Regions from separate parts of the Homo sapiens genome. Here all the other regions are linked to region 1. The links are contacts of gene promoters, found by promoter capture Hi-C in blood cells and fetal thymus (Javierre and others, 2016). All regions are on one chromosome and are shown on one strand. The core of a region is centred on a gene start or on the middle of the fragment in contact, and the rest is flanking DNA. Distances in the headings are between cores, read along the strand shown.

What was found. The method cuts DNA at HindIII sites, captures the fragments that hold promoters and counts their contacts. A CHiCAGO score of 5 or more calls a contact.
Region 2: a fragment that was not itself captured here is called in contact with the fragment with the promoter of BCL2L11 in region 1 in 4 of 17 cell types (naive CD4 T cells, total CD4 T cells, naive CD8 T cells and 1 more); the score reaches 7.7 in naive CD4 T cells.
Region 3: a fragment that was not itself captured here is called in contact with the fragment with the promoter of BCL2L11 in region 1 in 17 of 17 cell types (erythroblasts, neutrophils, total CD4 T cells and 14 more); the score reaches 27.4 in erythroblasts.
Region 4: a fragment that was not itself captured here is called in contact with the fragment with the promoter of BCL2L11 in region 1 in 16 of 17 cell types (neutrophils, erythroblasts, endothelial precursors and 13 more); the score reaches 23.9 in neutrophils.
Region 5: a contact is called between a fragment that was not itself captured here and the fragment with the promoter of BCL2L11 in region 1, in 9 of 17 cell types (neutrophils, M2 macrophages, erythroblasts and 6 more). The highest score is 11.6, in neutrophils.

What each region holds. Positions count from the first base shown.
Region 1 is chr2:111,119,639-111,122,183 of GRCh38, reverse strand. BCL2L11 (BCL2 like 11) reads right to left here and starts at 1,270. Exons shown (of 4, transcript NM_138621.5): 1 at 996-1,270. RefSeq lists silencers at 538-832, 1,166-1,705 and enhancers at 716-835, 1,986-2,065. The HindIII fragment of the contact is 10,886 bases long and covers 1-2,545 here.
Region 2 is chr2:111,744,548-111,747,092 of GRCh38, reverse strand. It overlaps the pseudogene CENPNP2. Among named protein-coding and RNA genes, the nearest start is that of MIR4771-2, 25 kb to the left of the region's middle. The HindIII fragment of the contact is 2,733 bases long and covers 1-2,545 here.
Region 3 is chr2:111,713,088-111,715,632 of GRCh38, reverse strand. No RefSeq gene overlaps it. Among named protein-coding and RNA genes, the nearest start is that of MIR4771-2, 57 kb to the left of the region's middle. RefSeq lists a silencer at 1,431-1,651. The HindIII fragment of the contact is 7,580 bases long and covers 1-2,545 here.
Region 4 is chr2:111,690,507-111,693,051 of GRCh38, reverse strand. No RefSeq gene overlaps it. Among named protein-coding and RNA genes, the nearest start is that of MIR4771-2, 79 kb to the left of the region's middle. The HindIII fragment of the contact is 1,440 bases long and covers 559-1,998 here.
Region 5 is chr2:111,632,467-111,635,011 of GRCh38, reverse strand. No RefSeq gene overlaps it. Among named protein-coding and RNA genes, the nearest start is that of MIR4771-2, 140 kb to the left of the region's middle. The HindIII fragment of the contact is 1,972 bases long and covers 293-2,264 here.

The DNA of each region.
Region 1 (2,545 bases), core at 21-2,520:
TGGCTGTGGCAACTATTCTCCTCCAACAACTTCCTCTCTCTCCTGGTGCGCCGCAGACACGAGTCAAAGCCGAAGAGCCACCCCTGGCCGCGGACGCGCACGTCCGCGACCATCGAGTAAATTCACACCCTCCGCCCTGGCGTCCGTCGGGCCCTCCACCAGCAGCGCCAACCCTGGGGCAACAGGTCCCAGAGGGCACGGCGCCGCCAGCCTGCACCGCGAACCGGGTCGGGTGTGCTCGGGCATGCGTGAGCCGCTAAGATAGCCCGGCCCAGGGACCGAGCAGGTTCTGCCGGCCGCGACTAGTCCCCTGCGCGGTCCAGGTGGTCAGGGGAGGACCTAGATTTCTCGCTGCCAGGGAATCGTGCGGATGGCACAGGCCGCAGGACTCCTGCAGAGCAAGCAGGGGCCCCAGGTACGCTTGAGAAAGCGAACGCAGCAGTGGCCCCGAAACCTTGGCCTGAATGAGTAAAAGGAAAAGCCGTGTCTCGTCAGTTAAATCACCACCGCAGTTCCGCAAATCCTCCGCAACAGGCCCACGCGCCCCAAAAAACCAAGACACGAAACACCCTCACACTGCGCGGCCGCTACTCTGAGGGCGCCGGAGCCGGCGGCGAGACTTTCCAGCTGGGCGCACAGCCCGATACTACGAGCAGGTCCTCAGCTCCCGGGCCGGCGCCGAAAGGCACGCGCTGCCTCTCCTCCTGCCCGGACCTACGACCCTTCACCAGGCCCGCGCGCAGCATCCCGTCCCAAGCCGCACTTCGGCCAAGAGCCTGCAGGTTCCGCGTGAACGACTTTTCTTTAAAGAGAACCTGCCCGAGAGGGAACCCGATCCACACGGATCCCCACCTCCCGCCGGCGACAAGCGGCGCCGATGCAAGCGTCTCCGCTCGCACGTGCACGGGAAGCGGGCAGTAGGTGGTGCCGTTCGGGCTCCAGCGCTAGTCTTCCTTCGGTGCCAGGCCCGCGCCCCGGGATTTGGAGGTATTTACCTTGCGTTTCTCAGTCCGAGAGTCAGAGTCAGACATTTGGGGGAACAAGGGCCAAGAAAGGGCGCCGAGGCGGTGGCGGCGGGAACGCAGCGAACCGAATACCGCGATGATGCGATCGCAGTGTGGCAGGGTTCGCAGGGTGGCTGCAAGAATCAAGTGGTGGTAGTGGCGGCGGCGGCGGCGGCGGCGGCGGCGGCGGCGGCGGCGGCAGCGGCAGCGGCGCTGGACGCAGAGCTCCAACAAACTGCAGACCAGGCGGCTGCGCGGAGCGAAGTGAAACCTGCGCGGCCCTGCAGCCCAGCTCTGGCTGGCGGCCCCGCTCCTACGCCCAATCACTGCGGACCCCGCCCCCGCTAGGTCCCGCCCCGGCGCGCGGGCTGGCAAGCTCCGCCCCCCTCGGCGCCGCGGCCGCCGGCGCGTGCAGGCTCGGACAGGTAAAGGCGGGGGTTGCCCCGCTGGGTTGCCTCCCGCGCGCGCCGCCGTCCCTGGCGTGTTTACCGGAGTAACTCTGCCTGCTGGCGGCCATGTGCGCGCCCATCCCCCACCCCGAAGTGTACCCTAGCCTCCCGCTCACCTACCCCAACCCGGCGGCGGCCGCGGCGTGCGCGGCACAGAGGGGGCGCTCCGGTCACAGCCTCCGCTGGCCCGGCCGGCGGTGTGAAGCCTCGGGAGGCGCCCTGCGCTCTCACTGTGCCCTGAGTTTCTAAGCCGCTCTGGGGCAGGCGCGGGGACTGGGTTGGTCCTCGCGAAGGCGCGGGGCGAGGTCTTTGAGCTCTCCTCCCTCTGAGGGTCCCTGGCGCCGGGCGGGACGCGGATCAGCAGGCTGCGCATCTTCCTCGCCCGGGCCTCTCGCGGGACTCAGGCACCCTCCTCCTGCCACCCCGCAGGGGCTCTCCAGCTTTTCTTCCGCGCCCAGTCGCCCTAAGAGACAGAGGCCGTGGGGGCAGGACGCGCCCAGAAAACGGCCAGGCGCGGTCCCAGTGGGCGTCTTCGCCGCCTCCCGGGTGAGGGCGGGAGGCATGTGCAAAGCAGGTAAAATAGGGAAATGAAAAAAGCACTCAGAAAAAAAAATCCTTTTAGGAAAAAAAAAAACGAGGTGAATGGCGGCCTCCAAGTGAGAGAGAACGTTGCGCACTGCATTTGGCTAGGACCCCCAAGATTTGCTGGGCTCGCAGATAACCTCGTAGGAGCTCCCTCGACTGGCTGAGGCCAGTGAAGGCAGAACAGCTGAGTTCGGGCCGCGGTGCGGGAGCGCAAAATACCCCGTCCCTCCTCCCCTCCCGCCTCCCCACCCATCCCTTTCCTCCCTGGAGTCCGCAGCACCTCACTCTACCTCCCAGGAGACCAAACTCCATGCCGCCTCTCCAGTCCTCTGAGTCTGCACCCGGGTCTGCTCTCCCAACGCGTGGCTGGCGCCCCAACCCCGGCCCTCCTGTCTGCTCCTCCCGCGCCTCAGTTCCCCAGCCCCAGCTTCTAGACAACTGCAGCGGGGGTGTGGGAGGTGGATCGGGAAATGGAACATCCCGCAGGTGAGGTCAGGCTAGATGGAT
Region 2 (2,545 bases), core at 25-2,524, 620 kb before region 1:
GATTGAGTGTGTGGTAAGGCTTCCTCCTTGGTGGGCCTTTTGGTGATAGGATGGTCAAGTGAGGAAGGGCTGTGCTCCTGCGGCTCCTAATTCTGAATTATATTTATTGGGCCATGCAGTCTGGTTAGTGCCTGAGTTTATGTATGGGAAATGAATTCCATTTCTACATGCTGGGTCCTTATCAGAGCAGAAAAAAGAACCCACGCTATGCAGATACATAAATGTCACCCACATGAACAAGGCACTGTCTTCAGTATGGCATGAAGGGGGCAGTGATGGATGGGCAGCTGGAGAGGGGAGCGTGTTCAGATGAGACAGGCTGGTGCAGACATCTGGGGTCAACCACAGCAGACACTAAAATGCAGTGGGGCCGTGGTGAGGGGGATGGAGGGGATGTGGGAGGTGAGTGGGAGCTGAGGGAAGAGGAGTGGCTCAGAATGCAGCGGGGGGTCTGCGAGAGGACCAGAGAGGGAGGAAGCCTCTCCTTGGGAAGAGTTGGGGGCAGGTCAGGAGAGGTTCCAGGTAGAGTCAGAGGTGGCTGGGCTGGGGTGGTGAAAGCCACCCTTATCCTCCCTGTGACTCTTAGGGTCATTGCACTGCTTTTCTGCTTCCAGATGAGATGGAGTAGCAGGGACGGCGTTTATCCTTTCACCTGACATAATTAACACAGGACAAAATAGATGAGGAAAAAAACAACAAAGCGAAACTCTTGCCATCAGACAGCGCAGAGCTGTGGTCCCTGAGAGGGAGAGACAGACAAGAGGAGTGCTAGGATTTCCCCAGAGGGCGTGGCCTGGACACTTTCCAAGCTGTGGCCCATGGATGTGGCTGCTGTCGTGGTGGGGTCCCTCCGGGGAAATCACTTTGTCAGTGAACAGCAACATCCTTTTCTGATTTTTCTAGTACCACGCATTGTTTTCTCCCATTGTCCAACAAAGGAGGCAAGAATGCAGTGTGCCGCATTCCTCCTGCAGCAGCGCTCCGGTGGCGTACCTTAACCTCGCTTTTGTTTTTTCATGTGTTGGCTGAGTCAGTGAGTGTGCTGTGGTGGACCTCTGCCATTTGTAGCTCCTCAAATCTTCAGCACCCTCTTCACAGTTTGATAGTTCCCCACAGTGTACCTCCTGCCTTCTAATGAGTCTCCAAATATTCCATTTCACAACCATCCTTGTTTTTGAGGTGCAAACATATGATTTAGGTCCAGGGATCATAGGCACCCACTCAAGGCTTTGATCCCAAACAGTTCCCATGGCTGGGGCAGATTGCGGTGGAGGGGCAGGGGCAGGGGCTGACAGCTGTGGCAGAGGCGTCCTGATTCAGCTGCCTCCAGATGGGGCCAGAGCGGCTGCCCCTCACTGCATTAGATCTATGGTATGGCACTGGGGGTCTCTTTCTTCAGCATTCGATTTGGTATGTTATCTTTTTTTTTTCTTTGATCAGCTTTTCATTATCTCTATTCACAAGTCGTTATAATATTGCTATTTATCAGTTTAATGTAACACATATGATAAAAACAGATGATAAAAAGTATCATATTAACAATGAGAACATTATTGGCTGGGTGCAGTGGTTCACGCCTGTAATCCCAGCACTTTGGGAGGCCGAGGAGGGTGGATCACCTGAGGTCGGGAGTTTGAGACCAGCCTGACCAACATGGAGAAACCCTGTCTCTACTAAAAATACAAAATTAGCCAGGTGTGGTGGCACATGCCTGTAATTCCAGCTGCTAGGGAGGGTGAAGCAGGAGAATCACTTGAACCTGGGAGGCGGAGGTTGCGGTGAGCTGAGATCGCGCCATTGCACTCCAGCCTGGGCAATAAGAGTGAAACTCCATCTCAAAAAAAAAAAAAAAAAAAAAAGAGAACATTATTTTACACAACCCATTTACTGAATATGCAGCCTCTTGCAACAATAACGTAGTGGACCCAACTCTACCCTCTGAATGGACCACTTTTATGATTCTCCTAAAAAGTTTTGAGTTGGATATAGTTTCTTGTTGCTTCTTTCTGTGATCCGAGACTTAAGAATGAGTCTCTGGAAACGCAGCAATTGGAACCAGACCTCCCCAGGATCAAAGAGGACAGGAGTGGGAGAAAGGATGCAGGACACGACTCCCACCGTCTCCAGCACTGCGCCGTATGCTTGACCTCAGAGCATGCAGGCACTCAAGGTCAAGTGTGCAGCCACGTCTATATCCTGCATCTCAAGTGCTCGCAACTGTGACAATTAGCAGATATGGGAGAGAGGAGGCATATCATGGAGGAATGAGTCAGTCCCAAAAATTACATGAACATTTCTGAAATTTCAATACCAAGGGTTAACTTCTAAAGTACTAGTGTATAAACAGAAGCCATATAGCTAGCCATGAACTGAAACGCATGTACCATACAGTGAAGGAGCTCCTGTGCATACAAAACCACCCACGTCTCATTTATCTCTAATTTTAAAATAACTCATTCCCTTGCTGGATATGCAAGTGAGTGGTGGAGAAAGCGGTCTATCTGCAAGGCTGGCGGGGGTTAAGGATTTCATTGCTTCCAAAAGA
Region 3 (2,545 bases), core at 34-2,533, 590 kb before region 1:
CCCTGTCTCAAAAAAACCAAAAAAACCCAAAAACACTTTGAGGTGTATTTTTTGCCATTAGGGATGTGAGTCCAGTGGATCAATAGATGTCTTTGTGACTCACAGTGATGCAGATGAACCACAGTGGTGCATTCATTCATTCATTCATTCACTCATTCATTCATTCAGCAATGACTTCTCTAACTGCACATTGCTGGCTGGGCCTTCACTTCTGCACATAGTGTGCAGGGGAGCAGATATCTCAGAGTCCTGATTGAAACAGGCCCGAGTCTCGTGCTCCTTCTGGGGAGAAGTTTGCCCTTTTCAGCCCGAGGTCAGGATGGGGTGAGTGGTCACTGCCAGAGGGCCGTGTTAGGAATCATTTAGGACTCATGTGACCTGGATGGCTGCCCACTCACCTGGGGTGTGAGGGTGTGAGCTTTTCCTTTTCCTGGAAAGTTCTTTTCAAGTGTGAGGGGTGGGATGAAGACTTTGTCCACATGTTTTCTCCCTGCCCTGACTCACTTGTGGTTTTCGTTCCCAGAATCTCCTCTGCCGTGTTTTGGTTTTGAGGAAGTCGTGTGTGTGCCTTGCTTCTCTCCACTGGCCTCACCCACTTCACCACACCAGAACCTTCCAAGGAAACATTCTGGATGTGCAGTTTTCTAGCAGTTGAGAGAAGAAATGGTGAGGGACATGCTATTTTGCACCATTTTGTTCTTGAATATTTTTAGTTCAAGAAAAACAATAATACCACACCCAAACTAGCGTTCCATTGCACTCACCTTTTAGAAACACGAGAGAACCTCTTGAGCTTAGCTGTTGTGGTCCTACCTCCAGCCTCTGCCCATGCAAGCCCTGCTCTCACCTGGCTCCCAGCCGGTCTTACCTGTCCTGTTGCGTCCTTCCCAAGCCACCAGGCCACAGGGCTTTCTTTCTTCCTGTGTGGCGCTGGTCCTTTTCATTAGCTTCTGGCACATCACCCCAACTTGCCGGTGAACCCCTGAGGAGAGGGACTAAACCCTGACCTTTACAAAAGGTTTCTGTAAAATCAAATCATAATCACTGTAAATTAAAATAATGCAAACAAAACAAAAGCGCAAGGAAGAAAGTCAGTGTCAGTTACAATCCAGCCCCCTAGAGACATCCGCTGCCCATGCCAGCTGCAGCGTCCCTCTGGCTAGCTCTCTCTACACCTGTATCAGGTGCTGCTTACGGAGGTTGTTACAAGAGTGGGATGGTAATAGGCGTTGCTGCTGTGGGACTGACCAGGACTACACTGCTTTGTCATTTCTTTCTTTCTCTCTTTTTTTTTTTTTTGAGACAGAGTCTCGCACTGTCACCCTGGCTGGAGTGCAGTGGCGCGGTCTCGGCTCACTGCAACCTCCGCCTCCTGGGTTCAAGCAATTCTCCTGCCTCAGCCTCCCGAGTAGCTGGGATTACAGGTGCATGCCACCACGCCCAGCTAATTTTTTGTATTTTTAGTAGAGACAGGGTTTCACCATGTTGGCCAGGCCGGTCTTGAACTCCTGACCTCGTGATTTGCCTGCCTTGGCCTTACAAAGTGCTGGGATTACAGGCGTGAGCCACCGTGCCCAGCCTGCTTTGTCATTTCTTGCTCTTGCTTTGTCATCTGTTTCCCTTCCCAACCCAGGGGACCCATTTTTAGCGTAGTATTATGTAAGAAATAGGTACTCTAGCAAGCCTTGATTGATGGCCTTGACTGATTATTCAACACACATTTCTTTTATTATTATTATTATACTTTAAGTTCTAGGGTACATGTGCACAACTTGCAGTTTGTTACATATGTATACATGTGCCATGTTGGTGCGCTGCACCCGTTAACTCGTCATTTACATTAGGTATATCTCCTAATGCTATCCCTCCCCACTCCCCCACCCCACGACAGGCCCCAGTGTGTGATGTTCCCCACCCTGTGTCCAAGTGTTCTCATTGTTCAATTCCCACCTATGAGTGAGAACATGCGGTCAACACACATTTCTTAAGAGATAGAATGACACATGGTCAAGAACACAGCCCAGTAGCCAAACTGCCAGGGTTTGAGGCCTGCGTATATCTGGCTGACCCTGGGCAAGTAACACAAATTCTCCATGCCTCAGTTTCCATATCTTTAAAATGGGGATTAGAATAGCACCTACCTCACATGTTTATACTAATACTTGATTGTGTTATAAACAGCGCCTGCCTTGTGGCAAGTGTTTGGTGAGAGTTCTATTGACCATCTATTAATGTGCAAAGTCCTGGGAATATGGGAAGTGAAGGCTACAGCAGCTCTCACGAGTCATGCCATGCATGCAGTGAATGACACCATAAGGGCCGCTGGAGGGCAGTCAGCTTGGGATCTCTATCCATGGCAGCATTGAGAAAGGGTGCTTAAGCCAGCATGGGAGGGGCAGGAGAGCATCCTCCTGCAAGGGTGCCCTGGCCTTCCTCACCTCCCCGCCCATGCAGAGAATAACATTTGCACCACTCATACTGGGAGGTGCTGGTGGGACGAGGCTGCTCATGGCTGAAGGGGACCTGCAGGGCTCTGCATGCTCTG
Region 4 (2,545 bases), core at 29-2,528, 570 kb before region 1:
TGTCTTTGGTTTTATTATCAGGTGATACTAGATTCATAAAATAAATTGAGAAGTATTCCTTTCTTTTATTTTCTGGAAGAAATTGCATAAAATTGGTGTTTTAAACATATTTGTTAGAATTTCCTTCTGTGAAACCATCTAGGCCTGGAGTTTTTTTAAGACAGTTTAAAAATTATTAGTTATTTATTAGTTTCAGGGCTATTGATAGTCTCTATTTCATCTTGGTGAGTTGTGGTAGTTGGTACTTTTCAAGGAATTGGGTTATTTCACTGAAGTTGTCAAATTTATGCATGTAGTGTTGTTTGTAGTATTTCTTTATTATCTGTGCAGTGTTTACAATAGCTATGGCTTTATCTCCGATTTCATTTGTGATGTTGGTGATTTGTGTTTTCCCTTTCTTTTTTCTTGCTTGAGATTTGTCAATTTCATTGATCTTTTCAAAGAACCAGCTTTTTGTTTCACTGATTTTCTGTATTAATTTTTCTGTTTTCAGTTTTATTGATTTTTGCTTTGTTCTGATTTCTGGTGTTCTTCCTCCACCCTCCAGCAGGAGAAGCTTGAACTGGGCTTAGGAGAAGTGAGTGGGGTGAGGAAGCCATCTCCACTTTAGGGAGTTGCAGACGGGAGTGGATGAAGGTGGAGGCCAACAGCCTAAGTAGCTGAGAGGGGGTGCTAGAGTAGGTGTTGTTGATTTACTCTCTTTCTGACTCCAGGTTGCACTGCAGAATGAGCTGAAGGTGGTGAGGAGGCAGCCCCCACCAGCACTTCCTGACCTCTCTTTAAGGGGACTCTGGCTCTGGCAGGGCTTTGGGTGCTTGAAGGGTACTCTCTAGTTTAAAACCTCATAAGCCCTGTCAGCAAGAAATGGATGAGGAAGCTGAGACTCCCTAAGCCTCTATGTGGTGAGTGTGTCCCTCCTTACCTGAAGATCCTGAGAATTCTGAGCTCTTCACTTGTGCTTAAGGACAGTGACCTCAGGAGGATTCTTTCTGAAAACGTTTGCACTGGGCATCCTAGTCTCCTCCCTGGGTCCAAGAGGACTTTGTTGGGTGTGGAGGTGAGGTGGACTGGGTGGTGTCCAGTCTGCCCTCCTGCCCTGAAATGGCCTGAGTTGTGTCTGTGCTTTAGTTACCCCAGGTTGTCATGGGGCAGCCAGGCGCAAGCAGAGTGAGTGGGGCCTGGTGGCACAGCAGGGCCTCCATTTAACAGGAGAAACCAGGCTGCTCTCCACATATAAATATAGGAAGGGAAAGTTTCCCAGACCTTTTGGAGTTTAGACAGCTCTTATAAAATGGCATTTTGATGAGCTGAGCATAAATGAATTGGAAACATTCAGATAACATTTCCCCAGAGTGTATAAACCGAAGACAAAAGTGCTTGGCAAAGAGTTTGAGGGGCTGGGCCAAGAGTTTGAAAAATGATTTGAGATGTTGTGATGAACCCAAACTACCACCAGCTTCTCCTGGCTCAGCTGCTTTGGAGAGCCTGGGAGAGGGGGCCTCAGGCAGGAGAGGAGAGATGCTTTCTTTCCCTGGGAACAGAGAGAGCCACTTTGAAACCATGCTCACCTGCATGTAGCTTCCCACCTGGGCTGTATTTGCAGCTAGCGACCAACCATCCATCCATCCATTCATCTGTCCATCTGTCCATCCATCCATCCATCCATCCATCCATCCATCCATCCATCCATCTGTCCATCGATCCATCCATCCATCCGTCCATCCATCTAACTATTCACTGTTTGTCCATCCATCTACCATTTATCCATCCCTTCATCTGTCTGTCCATTCAACCATCCATTCATCCAACCAACACTTGTTAAACACCTACTGTGTAGATGGCTCTGGGAAGACAGAAGGTAACGAGACTTAGCCCCTTCTCTTGCAGAGCTCAGTGTCATGGTGGGAGAATGTTATAAACGAAGATTTGAGGACAGGCAAGCGCTGCAGAATCCCAGGGAGGAGTCACATACTTGTGAAACTGTGAGGGTGACAAGCTTGCCAAATCTTCCAGTGTTACCCCAGCAGGGTGTTAGGATGCCTCTAAGTTGGACCAGGGACCCTCAAGATGAGATGTTATTTGGAATAGAAGGTAAAGGAAGGGGTTCACCTTGCCCCTGAGCTCAGAGCTACACCAAACCTACTGTAAGACAGTGGAATTCAGACATCACAGCAGTGGGATGGTCATCATTGGTAAGGGAGAGACCTCTTTCTCTTAACATTGACCCCGGGACCACTGCTTTACCCCATGCAGCTCCTAACCGAATCCTATGGGGAAGATACTGCTGTTCTCTCAGGAAATGGAAGCTAAGTGTGAGGACTCAGTTTGGGGCCACCTGGCTGGCAAAGGGAGAACTGAGACTTGAATCTGGGCCCATTGACTCCTGTACTGGGCAGTGGGGCTTCTACCCAGTAGGTGAGAGAAGAACTAGGGGTATACTGGTTGCTGCCAAATCCAGGCTCTGTCACTGGGCTATGGGTGTAGTGTTTGACCTTAGCCAGGTAGGGAAGTTGCTGAGAATGGCAAAGCTGTAAGCTGCAAGGAT
Region 5 (2,545 bases), core at 29-2,528, 510 kb before region 1:
CTTTTTCCTCACACTTGAATGATAGTTTGGTTGAGTATAGGATTTTAAGTTCTTTTAATTTATTTTCTTTTTCTTTTTCTAAAAAAATTAATCCTATCCTCTCTCATGCCTTGAAGATTTTACTTGTTCTTTTTTTAGTAGTTTTTACTTTAAACATTTTAAATTTCTATTTGTAAAAGAATGTATACCTATGATTGGTATCAGTTTAATTATGTCTATTTAAAGATTATCTTCTGTTTCTTCCTAATTCTTTTTCTGGATAATTTATTTTTCTATTTGTGTGTTTGAAGCTTTTTTTTTTCTGATGGATTATAGTCTTCTTTAAATACTTATGCTTTTGTTGATGTCCCTTTCACTTTTGTATTGAAGGTTGTCTGACTGCTATTTCCCCTTTATTACAGTCTAATGACAGGGGTGGTATTGGGCAGGCAAGGCTGTGCAGAGTAGGCTGTCTGTGTGTTATGGTTTGAATGTGTCCCCCAAAAGTGATGTGTTGGAAACATAATCCCCAATGCAACAGTGTTGAGAGATGGAAACTTTAAGAAGTGATTGTGGCATGAGGGGTCTACCCTCATGAATGGATTAATGTTGTTATCTGGGGAATGGGCTTATTATCTCAAGAGTGGGCCCTTATGAAGAGTGAGTTTGGCACCTTCTCTCACTCTCTCTCACACATGTGATGGCTTCCATCCTGTTATGACACAGCAAGAAGGCCCTCACCAGATGTGGCTTCTTGATCTTGGACTTCCCAGCCTCCAGATCACGAGTGAAACAAACTTCTAGTGTTTATAAGGCACCCAGTCTGTGGTATTTTGTTGTAGCAACACAAAACAGACAAAGACACTGTGGATGCGGGCTCAGTCACCATCTGACCTCATCCCTCATGGTGTCTTATAAGTTTTGGGTCCTTTAAGCACCCTTTCTGGTTATCTGACCCAGGTAAGGATTGTTTTCTTTTATAAAGCATACTTTATTCTTGTCTCCAGAGATTTGGGATGAGAGGGAAGGAAGGTATATGTGCTCTGGTTAGTGTCTTCTCTGATTCTTTTTTTTTTGAGAACCCAAGAACTCAGGGGAGAGAGAACAGGAAAGGGAGTCTCTTCCTCCAACACAGGCCTATCTCAGGCTCTGGGAAGCAGTACTGGGCACGGGTGCAGATAAGGTTTGCTCTTTCCTTCCTCCTCCTTTGGCCTCTCCCCGTGTGCAGCTCCCCTGTGCCCGGGCAGGCCGAAGGGGGAAGCTGGCTATGGCTCTGGCCCTTCTCCGTTGGTCTTTTCTGGCCCTAAGCACCCTCTGCCTCATTGCCATCCACATGACGGGCCTCTTGGGAGATACATGTGTATTCTTTGGAGGACCCAGCAGGCTCCCACTGCACGGTTCCCTGATGTGGGGGATCCCCTTGGCCTCAAACTTTTCTTTTTGATGTATCCTTTATTCAATTCAGATAAGGGCCTGGAATTCTCTGCCAGCTGCAAGATGTGTTCATTCACTTGCCCAACATTTGTCAAGTGCCGTTATGGGCTAGGTACTTTGCAGGGGCTTTTTATCCCATAGAAACCTCTGTGTAGGATGATAGTGCTTACAAAATAGATGATGTGGTGTTGTTTCTGTGTGCGGAGGTGGGGAGATGGATGGACTGGTTGGAAAATATTTTACAGAGGATATGAGTCCTAACTGAATCTTGAAAGGTGAGTGGGCAGCATAAAGGGAGAGGAGTGGGGAAAGTCAGGCTTGGAGGTAGACAGTGGGTCCACAGCCCAGTTCCAGGCAGTGAGGCAGTACATTCCCAAATGGTTCTGAACAGGGAGGGGAGATATGACTCCCCTTAGTTTTGGGTTTCAGAAAGACCCGGGTGGTATGAGTGAGGAGGAGGGATTGGATGGGGCAGTTTGGATTGAATGGAGACACTGCTAAGAGGCTGTTTGGAGTTCTGGGAGCTGAAAAAAATACCCATGAGGATGTTTATGTTTGGGAAACTGTGCATCTGCGTGTACACCTGCCACACACACACACACACGCACTCTCTCTCTTGCACAACCAGATCCAGAAGCTGCTGCTCCTGAATCAATTGCTCAAACTGGTGCCGGGCTGCACTTGCTGTGGAAGGATAGAGTCCAAAGAAACAACAGCTCCTGGGGGCCAGTTTTCTTAAAAAGCTGCTTTTCTCTGAGCCCTGGGGTGAAAGCTGAGCCTGAGAAAGGAAGTAGGGCCCCAGGATGATGTCATTGCCCACATCATTCAGTGCAAGGTGGGAAAGGGAAGCTTCAGCATAGCTCTACAATCACCTGACAGCTCAGGGTATCTGGAGGGGGATGCCGAATCTCCAAATAAGTCTTCTCACTGTGCATCAGTGGGAGACAGAAGTGTGGAGAGAAAGGGTGGTTTGTCTGGTCCTTACATGTGCTGCTAATGAAGGTTCAGCAACTTTGCCAAAGGCCGTTAGGAAATCAGGGTATGTGATTATTTTAGGAACCTGTCTTGACTCTAAATGGGTGAGATTAGAAATGTGTAACCATCATTATATTTGTCTCCTGAAGTCACACAG